4 separate regions of the Homo sapiens genome follow, and regions 1, 2 and 4 are each linked to region 3. The links are contacts of gene promoters, found by promoter capture Hi-C in blood cells and fetal thymus (Javierre and others, 2016). All regions are on one chromosome and are shown on one strand. Each heading gives the region's core, a stretch centred on a gene start or on the middle of the fragment in contact. The rest is flanking DNA. Distances are from core to core; before and after follow the strand shown. Region 1 holds the start of LOC100130987 (a long non-coding RNA gene). Region 2 holds the start of PITPNM1 (phosphatidylinositol transfer protein membrane associated 1). Region 3 holds the start of RHOD (ras homolog family member D). Region 4 overlaps SPTBN2 (spectrin beta, non-erythrocytic 2).

Region 1 (2,990 bases), core at 82-2,581, 260 kb after region 3:
GCTAATTTTTTTTGGTATTTTTAGTAGAGATGGGGGTTTCACCATGCTGGCGAGGCTGGTCTCGAACTCCTGACCTCAGGTGATCCACCCGTTTCGGCCTCCCAAAACGCTAGGATTACAGGCGTGAGCCATTGCGCCTGGCCAACCCAATATCTTTGGTCACCAAAGTCTTACGTGTTGATAATTGTGATGGTGTGAGAGCAGAGGAAAAACGCCATTTGAGTTTTCCCCCCAAATAGTACATAAAAGATTTGCCTCATTTAAAAAATAACCACACATGTTCTATTTTATGGAATCCATCAGTTAAGTGGTCATTTATTGATGAACATTTAGGTTGTCTGAGGGCTCCCCCCCGCCCCCATTCCAGGTAATGCTTTATAAAGCACTTTTGTGGCCGGGCGGGGTGGCTCACGCCTGTAATCCCAGCACTTCGGGAGGCCAAGGCGGGTGGATAACGAGGTCAGGAGATCGAGACCATCCTGGCTAACACGGTGAAACCCCGTTTCTACTAAAAATACAAAAAAATTAGCCGGGCATGGTGGCGGGCGCCTGTAGTCCCAGCTACTCGGGAGAATGGCGTGAACCCGGGAGGCGGAGCTTGCAGTGAGCCGAGATAGTGCCACTGCACTCCAGCCTGGGCGACAGAGAGAGACTCCATCTCCAAAAAAAAAAATCTTTTCTTTTTTTTTTTTTGTGCCACGACGCTGGCTAATTTTCATATTTTTAGTAGAAGAGGGGGTCTCGCCATGTTGCCCAGGCTGGTCTCTAACTCCTGACCTCAGGTGATCCACCCCCTCCGTCTCCCAAAGTCCTGGGATTACAGACGTGAGCCACCGCGCCTGCCCCAATACCATCGTTTTCTAGAAATGAGGAAACTGAGGCTCAGAGAAGTAACTACTAATCTCTAACAGAGCCGGAATCAGATCCTAGGTTTCTAGATTCTCATTCCAAGAGACTAACGCGGGAGCGGGGAAGGTGGCTCCTGGGCAGTCAACTGACTGCACATTTCCGCCCAAGGCGGGACCTGGATCCAGAAGTGCTTGGAGCTCGCGGGTGGGAGGATCAGGATGACTGCTGCTCCCGGAGCCCGACTTCAACTCCCACCGGGCATAGGAGCCTCTCAGCAGCGCGAGGGGTCGCCCAGCCTGGACCTGGAACGCTTGCAGCACGACCGTCGCGCGCTTCCCTCCGGAACCAGCTCCCACCGTCACAGCCCCCTCCCTCGGCCGCTCCCGGCTCAGCCCAGGCTGGGGCGGGGCCTCGGAAGCAACTGCCCTCGCCCTAGCCAGGGCTGCCGCTTGTTAGGCCAAGTTTTCAAACGGCAAAATCAACCGCGCTGAAGAGACTGTGCCTCCTTCTCTTCACTCCGCATCCCAGACGCCTCAGAGAAACTACCTTTCAGACCTTCGCGGCCTCTCCTGCGCCCGCAGCGCCCGGCAGCTGGGGACCCGGGCTTAGCCACATCGACCGCAACGTTCGCGCGCCACCTTGTGTCCATTCCCTTAGCCTCCAGGGACAACCCGGAAACCACATTTCCCAGCGTGCCGAGCGCCTCTGCGCAGGCGCAAAGAGTTTCCCTCGTTGCCATGGGAACCTCGCCCCTTCTAGAGTCCTGGCCGCTTGACTCAGCTAAGCGCGAAGGTGTTGTTTCTTCCTGAGGTGCGCTGGGGCTGGGACCCGGTCTGCAGAAGGTCCAGGGGATGGCGTCGGGGGATTGAGGAGAGGAGACCAAGCCGGCCTTGCCTCCGGGACCAGCGCTTCCAAATTCTCTGGGGCGTCCCGGCGCGCACACGCTCCTGAGGCCTCGGCGTTCTGAGGAAAGGGGCTGGCGTGGCGACCCGGGTCCTCGAGGCCGAGATCTGGCTGTGGCCCGCGAAGCCCCGCTTGCCCGCGCCAGCGTCTTGTCACCCCGAGCCGAGGGCCTGCGCGCGGCCGACAGGTACTCCCGGGCGCTGGCAGCCCACGGGGAGGGTTCGCGGCGCAGGTGAACGCGGAGGTAGAATCAGACAGGGCAGTGAGTGCGCCCGGGGCTGGATCTGGCTCAGCCGCTGGTGGATTCGGAACCCGGGAGGCCCCCAGGCCCGGTGGGCTTCAGTTCCCACGCTCTGTAAAATGGGGCTTGGACTGGAATTCTAGTGTCCATTGAGATTCTGTTGCAGAGCAGCCCCCTGGCTCTGTGTGACCTACGAGTTCCTTCCTCTGTAAAATACGGAGGCTGAGACCGATGATCCTAACGTCTCTTCCTACGGTGCAGTATGTTACACACTGCTGGCCCCATTGCCCCTTATTGCACCCCAAGTGCAAGAAGAAAGAAGGGGACCTGGGATGATCTGAGCAAGACTCTCAGCTTGGGATCTAGAGTCAGAGAAACTTGGGTTTGTGACTTTGGGCAAAGTTAGGACATCTCTTGAGACTCAGCTTCTTCATTTGCAAGATTGGGGATAATGTTAATACTACCTCAGGTTTTTGAGGATTAAATGAGATGACGCATGTAAGTTTTTAGCCCAGGGACTGCATAGAGGAACTGCTATCCCAGGTCCCAACTATCGTTTCTGATAATTTCTACAATAGTCCCTAGCCACCATAAGACCTTTTCTTAATTTTTGAATTCACTTTATTTCTGGGCAAGTTCATTCTCCTAAGCAGGGCGGTTTTTTGCTTTTTGTTCGTTTGTTTATTTTGAGACAGGGTCTCACTGTCACCCAGGCTGGGGTGCGGTGGCGTGATCTCTGCTTACTGCAACCTCCTCCTCCTGGGTTCAAGCGATTATCGTGCCTCAGCCTCCTGAGTAGCTGGGACTACAGGCGTGTGCCATCGCTCCCGGCTAATTTTTGTATTTTTTGTTAGAGATGGGGTTTCACCATGTTGGCCAGGCTGGTCTCAAACTCCTGGCCTCAAGAGATCTGCCCGCCTCGGCCTCCCAAATTGTTGGGATTACAGGCGTGAGCCACCACACCTGGCTAGGCAGGATGGTTTTATAGGCTGATTTT
Region 2 (3,142 bases), core at 186-2,685, 450 kb after region 3:
AAGCACCACTCGGCCCTCCTGCCCCTCTTCCCACAGTCCTTCCCCATTCCCACATCTGAAGGGGGGCCTCTCTTGCCTCCTCCGGGCTCCCAGCCGGTCCCAGCCCCGGGGCAGGGCTGGCGGGGTCGGCAGGGCTCCACCCCTTGCCCGGGTGCCCTCTCCCCGCCGCCCTCACCTGGATCATGTAGAGCTGGGCCACCTGGTACTCGTCCAGGCTCATGGGCAGCAGAATGTGGTATTCCTTGATGAGCATCCTGAAGGCGCTCGGCGGGCCGCGCGCGGCCTCCGCTCCTCCTGGCGCAGGGCACGGCGCGACAGTCAGTGCGGGGAGGCTGCGCGCGGCCCCGAGCCCTGCGCGCCGGCCGAGGGACTCAGGCCACGGGACCCCATGTCCGGGCCCGCCACGAGGGAGGCAGAGGCGAGCCTAGCACCGCCGCCCGCGCCGCCGGGGCCGGGAGCCGCAGCGAGGCTGAGCGCTGACCTCTTTTCCGCGCAGCCCCCGCCCCCCGCCCGCCCGTCGCCATGGCAACCGCGCGCTGACGCGGGCCCCCCGGAGCGCCAGGCTCCGGCCGGCGGGCGGGAGGGCCACCTCACCTCTCCCGCTGCGACCGCGTCCTAACCCCGGGAAACGGCATCCCTCTGGGCGCGCCCCCGAAGCCCCGGGGCCCCTCCTTCCGGGCCCGCCTTCCGCGACCGGCCCCTCGGGGACCCGCCCCTTGCATCCCCTTCCCGGAGTCGGCGGGGTCCCAAGTCCCCCACTCTCGGACGTCCACCTAGAGCTTTGTTCCCCGAGTGTCTCTGCGCGGAGTGGCCCAGTGCGCCCAGCATCTCTGCCAGGGTTCCCCACGCCCTGCACCCGAACCTACCTTCCGGGACCGGTAATCTCCTCCGCCCTCCAGATCTGCCTTCTTGGGCAGCCGGGTCCTCGACCTCCCCCTCCCAGCATCCTTCCTGGACCCCTGGCCCTCGCCGGCTCTCCACGCGCCTAGGCAGCCACTCCGTCCTCTTCCCAGGGGGTGAGCCCTCCTCAGGCTGAGGCCAGAGTGGCTCCACTTGGTATCCCACGGGCCATGGCCCTGGAGACCCGCTCCGTCCACCTGCGCCCCAGACTGGCACCGAGGTTCCGCTGCAGGCACCCCTCCATCCCCCACTCGCACCCCGCGAGCAAGCGAGAGGCCCCGTTGTCCCCACTTCCCTCTGCTCGCCGGCGTCCCGGTCCCCTGCCGCGCTCTTGGCCCGCCTGCCGACGCCCCGGCTCACCTCTAGCTTGAGGCGGGCGCCCCTCACCCAGCCCGGGCAGGGCCGGCCGGCCCGTGGGTCGGAGCCCGGAGCGCCCCCAGCCCCGGCCTCGGGTTCCAGCGGTGGCCGGACCCTCCCGAGGCGCAGTGCCGGCCCATGGCCCCGACCTTCCTCTCGATCCGCCCGCCGGCGCCCCTGCAGTCCCTCCCCGACGCCCGCCGCGTCACTGCGGCCGCCCCGCCCCCTTCCTGGGCCCGGCTGGCCCTCCCCACCCCGGCGGGGTCCGGGCAGCCCCGCCTGCAGCGGAGGAGGCAGGGAGGGAGGCCCCTGCCTTCCTTCCCCCGGGCAGTGGGAAAAAGGCCATTGCCTAAATTCTGGCTCTTCCTAGTCCCTCTGTGCTGATTGGGGTCCCCAAAGACTCTTAGTTCCTATCTCCACCCTAGCCCAGCCCTCCTGTGTGCAGTCACAGGGTGGTTTGATATGGGGGGTCCCAGGCCCACTCTCCTCTTCTCACTCTCTGCAGTCCTTAGATTTGGGACCCAGGGTTGAGGAAATGCCTCCCCACCAGTCTAGCCAGAAGCTGGTGGCTCTGACATGCCTCCACCTAGGGCTGGGCTCGGCTCCAGGGCCCCAGGCCTCTATGGTCACCCAGCTACACGCCCAGGCAGAAACGGGCTGTCACTGTGAGTGGCTGGGCTAGCCCCTGCATGGTGCCACAAAGCCTCCCCCACCTCTGCCTTCCGGGTCCACAAGTCCGGTCACCCAGCCACCCGGAGTCTGGGCAAAGGCCTCACGAGGCACCCCAAGGCTGGGTTCATGGGATCCCACCCAGCCTGCTACAAGGTGCTGGGGCAGTGACGGCAGCACCCCGCCAGCCCCTCCCCTTGACACTGAGGCCAAGTGCTGGAAGCAGCAGTGCCCTTTCTCTCTGAGAAGTCAGAGACCTTCAGGGCTGATTCAGAGGCTGGGGTGTTGTCAGGGCATTAGGGCGTGTGAGGGAGTGGCTTACGTGAACTGGCATTTCCATGCTGCCAGGCATCACCGCCAATCCAGAGGAAGCGCCCTCCAGGCCCAGGCTGCCCACAGCGCCAAGGGCTGTGGAAGCAGCCAGGCCCTGTGCTGCCCCCTGGTGGCACCACAGGAAGGCCCAGGGCTCTCAGCGCCACGGCTGGGGCGGAGAGGGCCCAGGTCCCACCAAAGGCTGATGGCCTACAGAGGCAAGTCAAACCTCATTTAATCACACCCTCCCCATCCATAGTCTCCTCTTCCCCTGTCTCTGCCTGGCCCACCCAGGCTTAGCTGAAGAACCAGACCCAGAAAGGCTCAGAGCTGAGAGCACAACTCCAAATCATCTTTTATTAATATAAAAAGGGCATATTTAGCAAAAGACACACAGATAAAAGAGTCACTATGGCTCAGGACACAAGGCAGGGAGGTGCCAGGCCTGTGCCCCTGCTGGGGGAGAAGGAGGCTCGGGACAAAGTGGGAGAAGTGCTGGGAAGGGCTGAGCGGTAGGGGCCACAAAAGTTCCGGTGGGCAACACTGTCGGCAGGTCATGGGTGGGACTCATGGGGACCTCGCTGCTAACTCTTGTTGTGGGGGGGTGTCCTTAGTGCTGCCACCTGGAGGGCCACTCCTTGGTTCCTGGAGGGGACCCACCAAGGGACACAGGACAGGAAGCCCAGGATGGTTAGTGCAACTCGGGATGAAGGCCAGGGAGAAGCGGGTGCTCTGCAGTGGCCGGATAGGTCCAGACGCTGAGGCCGAGGCGCTTCCTGTTACGTGCGGGCGTTCCGCTCTGTCTCTGCCAGGCACTCTCTGACTAGGGCCCGGGCATGGATGATACCTGGGGGTGGGGTGGGGTCTCAGCAACCCTCCACAGCCCCACCCACTGCCCTCCAGA
Region 3 (3,096 bases), core at 540-3,039:
ATCTGTGAAATGGAGCTAAGAGTCCCTACCTCCTAGGGAACAGTGCCTACACGTGGCTTGCAATCCACTAATGGGTGTTGTTATTATTAGGAAATGTTCAGTGAAACTGTATAGCATGACAAACATCAAGTGTGTCATTACAGAGATTATCCCTATAGCAACCAAGGCCAAACGCCTCTGCCTGACTCTCAGCTCCCTCCACCCCCAGTCTGGCCCCACCTGCCTTCCAGCCTTGCCACCCAAGGCCTGACGACAGCAGCAGTTGGGAGGAAGATGCTGACAGCTGATCCGAGGGGGTGGGGCCCCTCTCACCACTCCTTGGGGCGGGGAGCCCTGCTCTGGAGCTACCTGCCCAGCCCAGTGTCAAGTCACTGCCGAGCCCTGTGGCAGTTTCGGGGAGGAAGGGGCACCTGGAAAGGCAGAGCTGTGCTGGGGAGGATCCTTCCCTCCAAGTGGGGCTCCATCCAGCCTGCAGACCACAGCCCGGAGCGGGAGCCGGGCAGAGGAGTCAAGGAGCTGGGCTCTGCCTCTCCACCTAGTGACTCCTGCCCTGGCTGCCTCTTTAGACCACAGTGAGTTTAAAGGAGGTTGAAGGTGCTTTTTCACCTGCCTGACTTGGAACTCCATGAGGGGGGATGTCATGACCAGCATAAATTAGGGGGAACCTAATGACGTCTGCCCCTTGTTCTTTTAAGCTTCAATAGAAACACTCAGTCCAAGATCTGGGAAGACCCTTGTGCCCATTTTTAAAAGATTTCAACTCTGGCCATTAGGAGAAGTGGAGAGATCAGGTGACAATGAGTTCCCAGTTCAATGCTGGATTTACTGCTGGCATCCAACGTGCTCCACTGAGCAAGCACCAGCTCCTCATGCTGCACCACTGTGCAAGCGAGCCTCACCCTCTGCGGGGGCGGGGTGGGGGGGCAGCATTCCGCTCCGGCCTCCGCAGCTTCGCACGTGCCGCTGTCTCCGGTGGAACACCTTTTCCCTCCCCCATCTGACTGTGTTTCACTTTTTCCTCAAGACTCTGAAAGGTTTCCTGACTCCCTCAACGTGGGCGAGGAGCTCTTTTCCCCTACTCCCGTCCCGCTGCCTGTCCCTACTCCCGTTGTAGTTCTGATCACACTGATGTCCTGCGTGTCTACCATTCTAAGCCGTGGGCTTCTCAAGGCAGGGCCTGGATTTTGTCTTAAACAGTTCAGGGTCCCCGGGCCCTTGGGCACCAGGGGGACATCTCATGGTGCAATAATAAGAAACACTCACACTTTACAGAGGGAAGGTTCTATCGCTTTCCCTAGATCGTGGCCAGCCACGGTGTCAGGTGGCTGCCCACCTGCAGCAGAGCTTCCTGGTGCTGCGGGAGGGGGCAGGCCAGGCCTGGTGGGGCCAGTGAAGGGGGTCATCCCCTTCCCACCTGGCATGAAACGCCTGTGTTGTGCTGCGTCCTGAGACCCCTGGGGAAATGCACCATTCATTCATTCATTCATTCATTCACTAAAGGTCACTGGCTCCTGCCTGGGATCTGGGACCCAGCCCCTGAGCACACCCCCGCCCCCACTGTCATGGTCCCGCTGTTTGTCTTCTCCCTTCCGACCTCCCGTGGCCCCAGCGCGGCCAGCTCACAGTAGGTGCTCGGGCAGCGTTTCTTCAGGGACCTAGACGGCCTGGAGAGGAAGGGCCCCAGCCCAGCCGCCCGGGCCTCTCACCTGGCTCTCGGGGCGCCCGGCTCGCACTTCCTCCCGCCGCCCCGCCCCTTCCACATTCCTGCCCCGCCGGGCCTGCCCCGCGCAGTCTGGGTCTCTGCGCCGCAGCCGCCCGCCCGCCCGCTCAGCGCCCGGCCCCGGGATGACGGCGGCCCAGGCCGCGGGTGAGGAGGCGCCACCAGGCGTGCGGTCCGTCAAGGTGGTCCTGGTGGGCGACGGCGGCTGCGGGAAGACGTCGCTGCTGATGGTCTTCGCCGATGGGGCCTTCCCCGAGGTGAGTGCCCCGCGCCTCCGCCTCGCCCGGTTCCGCTCGCGCGCCCGGGTGTACAGGTCCGTGCCGGAGCGGCCCAGGCTGTGCGCCTAACCCGGCCTCCGAGGGGTGTCCCAGCGGGGCCTGGGGTCCAGGGCAGAGTTCTTCCGCCCCAGCCATTGGGAATGAAGGCCTCAGTGATGTTATCTGTAAAGCCGGAGGAATGGCATCCACCGGGGAGAGGTGTCACAAGGACTGAGTGAGGCGACCTGGGTGCACACAAGATCCTAAGACAGCACTTGGCCACACAATTCCGCTGAGGGCCTGAGAGCTTGGAAGCCAGACTGCCGAGGTTCAAATTATGGCTTTGCCTCTTATAGCTGTGTGCCCTTGGGTAAGTCCCCTAACCCTGCTGTGCCTGTGTCCCTCACTACATCACAGGTGAGTGACAGTGCCCACCACACAGGGTCACTGTGACAGAGAGTTAATAGACCTCAAGCACTCAGCCCCGGCCTGTGCACAGGAAGGACTCACGGAGAGTTGGCACATGTCGCTCCTGGGAAACATTGTCTCCCTTCCAGCTCTTGCCGCTGGAAAGCACATGCCATGGGCTCTGCCTTGGAGGGTGGGAGCACGCCAGCTGTAGCCTCAGCTGCTGGGCCCGCGTCTCTGCTCTCCTCTGAGCCCCGTGCCCTTTTGTAACCTGCTTAGCTTCTCTGAGCCTCAGTTTCCTCACAACAACCCCATGGGGTAGAGGGACTGTAGGGCAGTGGTGAAGTGGAGCCCAGGGGAGGCTGACAGGCAGCTCCCGTGCGGTAGCTGGCATGTCCTTGGCGCTGTAGGCATGCCCACCGTTAATCCTTCCTGACATGCTCACTGACTGCCCAGGCAGACTCCACGGGCACCAGGCGGCCCCTGCTCTGCCGCCTCTCAGCCCTGTTGTCCTGGGAGTCCATGGAGTTGCTTCCAGCATCTCTTCTTTTTTTTTATTTTTATTTTTTTTGAGAAGAGTCTCACTCTGTCACCCAGGCTGGAGTGATATTGGCACAATCTCAGCTCACTGCAACCTCCGCCTCCTGGGTTCAAGCGATTCTCTTGCCTCAGCCTCCTAAGTAGCTGGGATTACAGGCGCCCACCACCACG
Region 4 (3,009 bases), core at 373-2,872, 360 kb before region 3:
TGAGGAACAGCTGGGTGGGAGACCAAGAACCAGGGACGGCAAGACTCGAAAATAAGGATTGGCAGACTACATACAGCCCACGGGGTAATCTGGCCCACTGCCTGTTTTTACAAATAAAGTTTTATTGGGAAACAGCCATGTTCATTCATTCACTTATTCTCTGAGGCTGCTTTTGCACTACAACGACAGAGATGAGTAGTTGTAGTAGAAACTGTTTGGACTGCAAAGCCTCAGATATTGACCATCCAGCCCAAGCCCTTTCCAGACAAGGTTTGCAGAGCCTGCTGAAGAGCACCATCCTGCTTTGAACTCAGGAACAGTTATGGCGTTAAATCCAGGCTGCAGTTTCGCTACCTGCTAATTTGTACTTTATCAAGGTTCTGGACTCACTGTCCCACTCTTTGTCTCCAACAAAGACGTTTGTTTCCCAGAGGCCATAACTTTCCACCATGGAGCTGTGGCACCAGAACCCCACAATCTCTAACCATGACAAAAACCACGTCCTGGAGCCAGGCCCTCCCCCGTACCATGGGGGACTCTGCCCAGAGGCAGCCCCCACAGCACTGCTCACCTTGTCCACCTTGTCCAGCCAGTCTTTGTTGGCAGCCAGCTCGGCCATGAATGCCTGGTGCTTCTGCCACTTAGTATGCAGGTTGCGGGCCTCGTCATAGGACACGTCCTGGGCTGTCAGCATCTTCTCGTCGATCCAGAGCTTCAGCTGGACCAAACATAAAACAGGGACATTTCCAAGGGAGGGGAGAGGGGGGCATAAAAGCAGGGCCACAGTGAGCCAGGAGAAGTGGGCGCCTTGGGAAGAAGCCATGAAGGGGCTCACAGTCTCCGGTACCTTGTGCTGGACTTATTCTAGGCTCAAGGTGAGAAAGGGATGGCTAGGGAATATCCCGGGGCCCCAGGGAGCCTCACCTCGTGACAATCTTGCAGGAAATGCTGCTGCTCCCGGTTGTCCCGAAGACGGCCCAGAAATTGCTGCGCTGCGTCTTGATTCTTCTTGTGCCTGGAACGACACCCTCTTGTGAAACTCTGGAATTTGCTGTGAAAGGATTGTGACCCTTTGGCTAACCTAGGGGCCTCCATTTCTTCTAGGGGAATAACGCCTTCCGGGAGCACAATGAGGCTACCCAGGAATCCTGACTTCCTTTTAGCCCTGGTTGGGGGTGGAATCTCCCAGCCCTCTCCAACCACTTAGTTCTTCCCCTCTACTTCTCTGTCAGCTCCTGCCCCATCTGTGGGTTTCCTGTGCCACGTTTATCTTTGAGGTCACCCTGTTTCTCCGATTCCCCCCTGGGAACCCTAATTCATGGACTGTCCTCATCAGACCTCCTCTCAATGGAGTCTGCCTTTTCCCGAATCTTGTCGGCGTGGATGTTGCCTTCAGATACCAGCTGGCGGCCAGCCTCCAGGAGCCCGTGGATCCGTTCCCCATTGGCGTCCATGGTGCTCATGAAGTCCTCCAGTTTTTTAATGGCAGCATCAGCAGCCTGGAGTGTCCCTGGCATCTCCGTGTGAGACAGAACATATTCCTGTGTGGGAGGGATGACATTCAGCTCATTTTCCCCAGCACAATTCACCCCCCTAGGAGGGACCCACCCAGGGGCAAATCTGAGAGGTAGGGACCAACAAGCAGACAGGGAGGGTAGCCCAGAGAGCTCTGAAGACAGGGAGGCTGCCAGCCAGCATGGGAGCCTCAGAAAGTCACAGGGAAGCTGGGTGGGAAGGACCTTCCATTCCCCAGCCCAAATCCTGTTCTATCTCACTTCTAGCTCCTGATTCCATTTAACAGTTACATGACAAACTGGGCTTTCTATTTCTTCTAAAGTCAGTTTTAGTAAATTATATTCACGTCTTTTTCATTCTCATTTTTCCTTCTTTTTTCTTTTTCTTTTTTTTGAGAGAGGGTTTCATTCTGTGGCCCAGGTTGGAGTGCAGTGGCATATCATAGCTCACTGCAGCCTCAAACTCCTGGCTCCAGTGATCCACCAGCCTCAGCCTCCCCAGTAGCTGGAGCTACAGGCATGCACCACCATGTCCAGTTAATTTTTTTTTTTCATAGAGATGGGGGTCTCACTATGTTGCCCAGGCTGGTCTCAAACTCCTGAGCTCAAGTTATTCTCCTGCCTCGGCCTCCCAAAATACTGGGAGTACAAGTGTGAGCCATCCTGTCTGGCTCCCATTTTTCTTTTTAAAAAATTCTTCTATTTTCTTAAAAAAATTTTTTTGTAGAGACAAGGTCTTGCCATGTTGCCCAGGTTGGTCTGGATATTCTCAGCCTCAAGTGATCCTCCTACTTTGGCCTCCCAAAGTGCTGGAATTTCAGGTGTGAACCACTGCGCTGCCCCATTTTGCTAGCATGTCCTTCCTGCCCATCCTGCTCCTTCACATTTCCCCGGGTCCCTACTTTGCTCTTCCTCCTGCTTGGGACTTTGCCCTGGACTTTCACCTGGCTGCTGAGCACGCCCTCAGCCTGACGAGCATCCCGCAGGAATCCCTGGAAGCCGTGGGCCTGGGCCAGGCGACCTTGCCGGCTCTCCCACATTCGGCCCAGCTCCTCCCAGCCAGTTCCCAGGGCCTCCAGTCGCTGTCGTAGGAAGAGGCACTGGGGGTCAGCCTGGTCCCGGGTCACCTCCTCGCCCAGGGCTCGCAGCCGGCTATACTCGCTCTGGGCCCGCTCCACCTCTCCCCGCAGGGCTGCATGTTGGGCCAGGAGGGCCTCTGCCTCAGGCAGGGTGGCCGGCCCTTCTTCAGAGGCCACAGCAGTCTGAGTGCGGCCTAGCCAGGCCTGGAAGTCATCCAAGCTGCGCAAGAAGTCCTGCAGCCGCCGCGCCTCCCCCAGCGACTCTTCTCGACGCCGCATGGTGGCCCTGAGGTCCTCCCAGCCGGTCTGCACCTCTCTCAGCCGGGCGTTGATGGCCACTGCCTGAGCGGGATGGCCGGCAGCCAGGGCATTTGCCTCTCGAGTCAGTTCGCCCACCCGGGCGGCGATGGCCTCCA

What was found. Contacts are between HindIII fragments. The CHiCAGO score rates a contact against its expected background, and 5 or more counts as called.
Region 1: a fragment that was not itself captured here is called in contact with the fragment with the promoter of RHOD in region 3 in 5 of 17 cell types (endothelial precursors, erythroblasts, M0 macrophages and 2 more); the score reaches 8.5 in endothelial precursors.
Region 2: a contact is called between the fragment with the promoter of PITPNM1 here and the fragment with the promoter of RHOD in region 3, in 1 of 17 cell types (erythroblasts). The highest score is 5.1, in erythroblasts.
Region 4: a fragment that was not itself captured here is called in contact with the fragment with the promoter of RHOD in region 3 in 1 of 17 cell types (total CD8 T cells); the score reaches 5.9 in total CD8 T cells.

The regions. Positions count from the first base shown.
Region 1 is chr11:67,316,259-67,319,248 of GRCh38, forward strand. It overlaps LOC100130987 (a long non-coding RNA gene), which reads left to right and starts at 1,581. Exons shown (of 4, transcript NR_024469.1): 1 at 1,581-1,939. RefSeq lists enhancers at 1,212-1,261, 1,302-1,731 and a silencer at 1,952-2,001. The HindIII fragment of the contact is 3,873 bases long and covers 1-2,990 here.
Region 2 is chr11:67,503,928-67,507,069 of GRCh38, forward strand. It overlaps PITPNM1 (phosphatidylinositol transfer protein membrane associated 1), which reads right to left and starts at 1,436. Exons shown (of 24, transcript NM_004910.3): 1 at 1,261-1,436; 2 at 176-294. The coding sequence starts at 253. CDK2AP2 (cyclin dependent kinase 2 associated protein 2) reads right to left here. Exons shown (of 4, transcript NM_005851.5): 4 at 2,570-3,085. The coding sequence ends at 3,018. RefSeq lists an enhancer at 1-644 and silencers at 423-522, 603-722, 733-892, 1,103-1,732. The HindIII fragment of the contact is 23,305 bases long and covers 1-3,142 here.
Region 3 is chr11:67,055,058-67,058,153 of GRCh38, forward strand. RHOD (ras homolog family member D) reads left to right here and starts at 1,790. Exons shown (of 5, transcript NM_014578.4): 1 at 1,790-1,977. The coding sequence starts at 1,846. RefSeq lists silencers at 1,689-1,848, 1,859-1,928. The HindIII fragment of the contact is 21,888 bases long and covers 694-3,096 here.
Region 4 is chr11:66,698,068-66,701,076 of GRCh38, forward strand. It overlaps SPTBN2 (spectrin beta, non-erythrocytic 2), which reads right to left. Exons shown (of 38, transcript NM_006946.4): 17 at 2,459-3,009; 18 at 1,339-1,541; 19 at 925-1,015; 20 at 572-718. Among named protein-coding and RNA genes, the nearest start is that of RBM4B, 22 kb to the left of the region's middle. The HindIII fragment of the contact is 3,288 bases long and covers 1-3,009 here.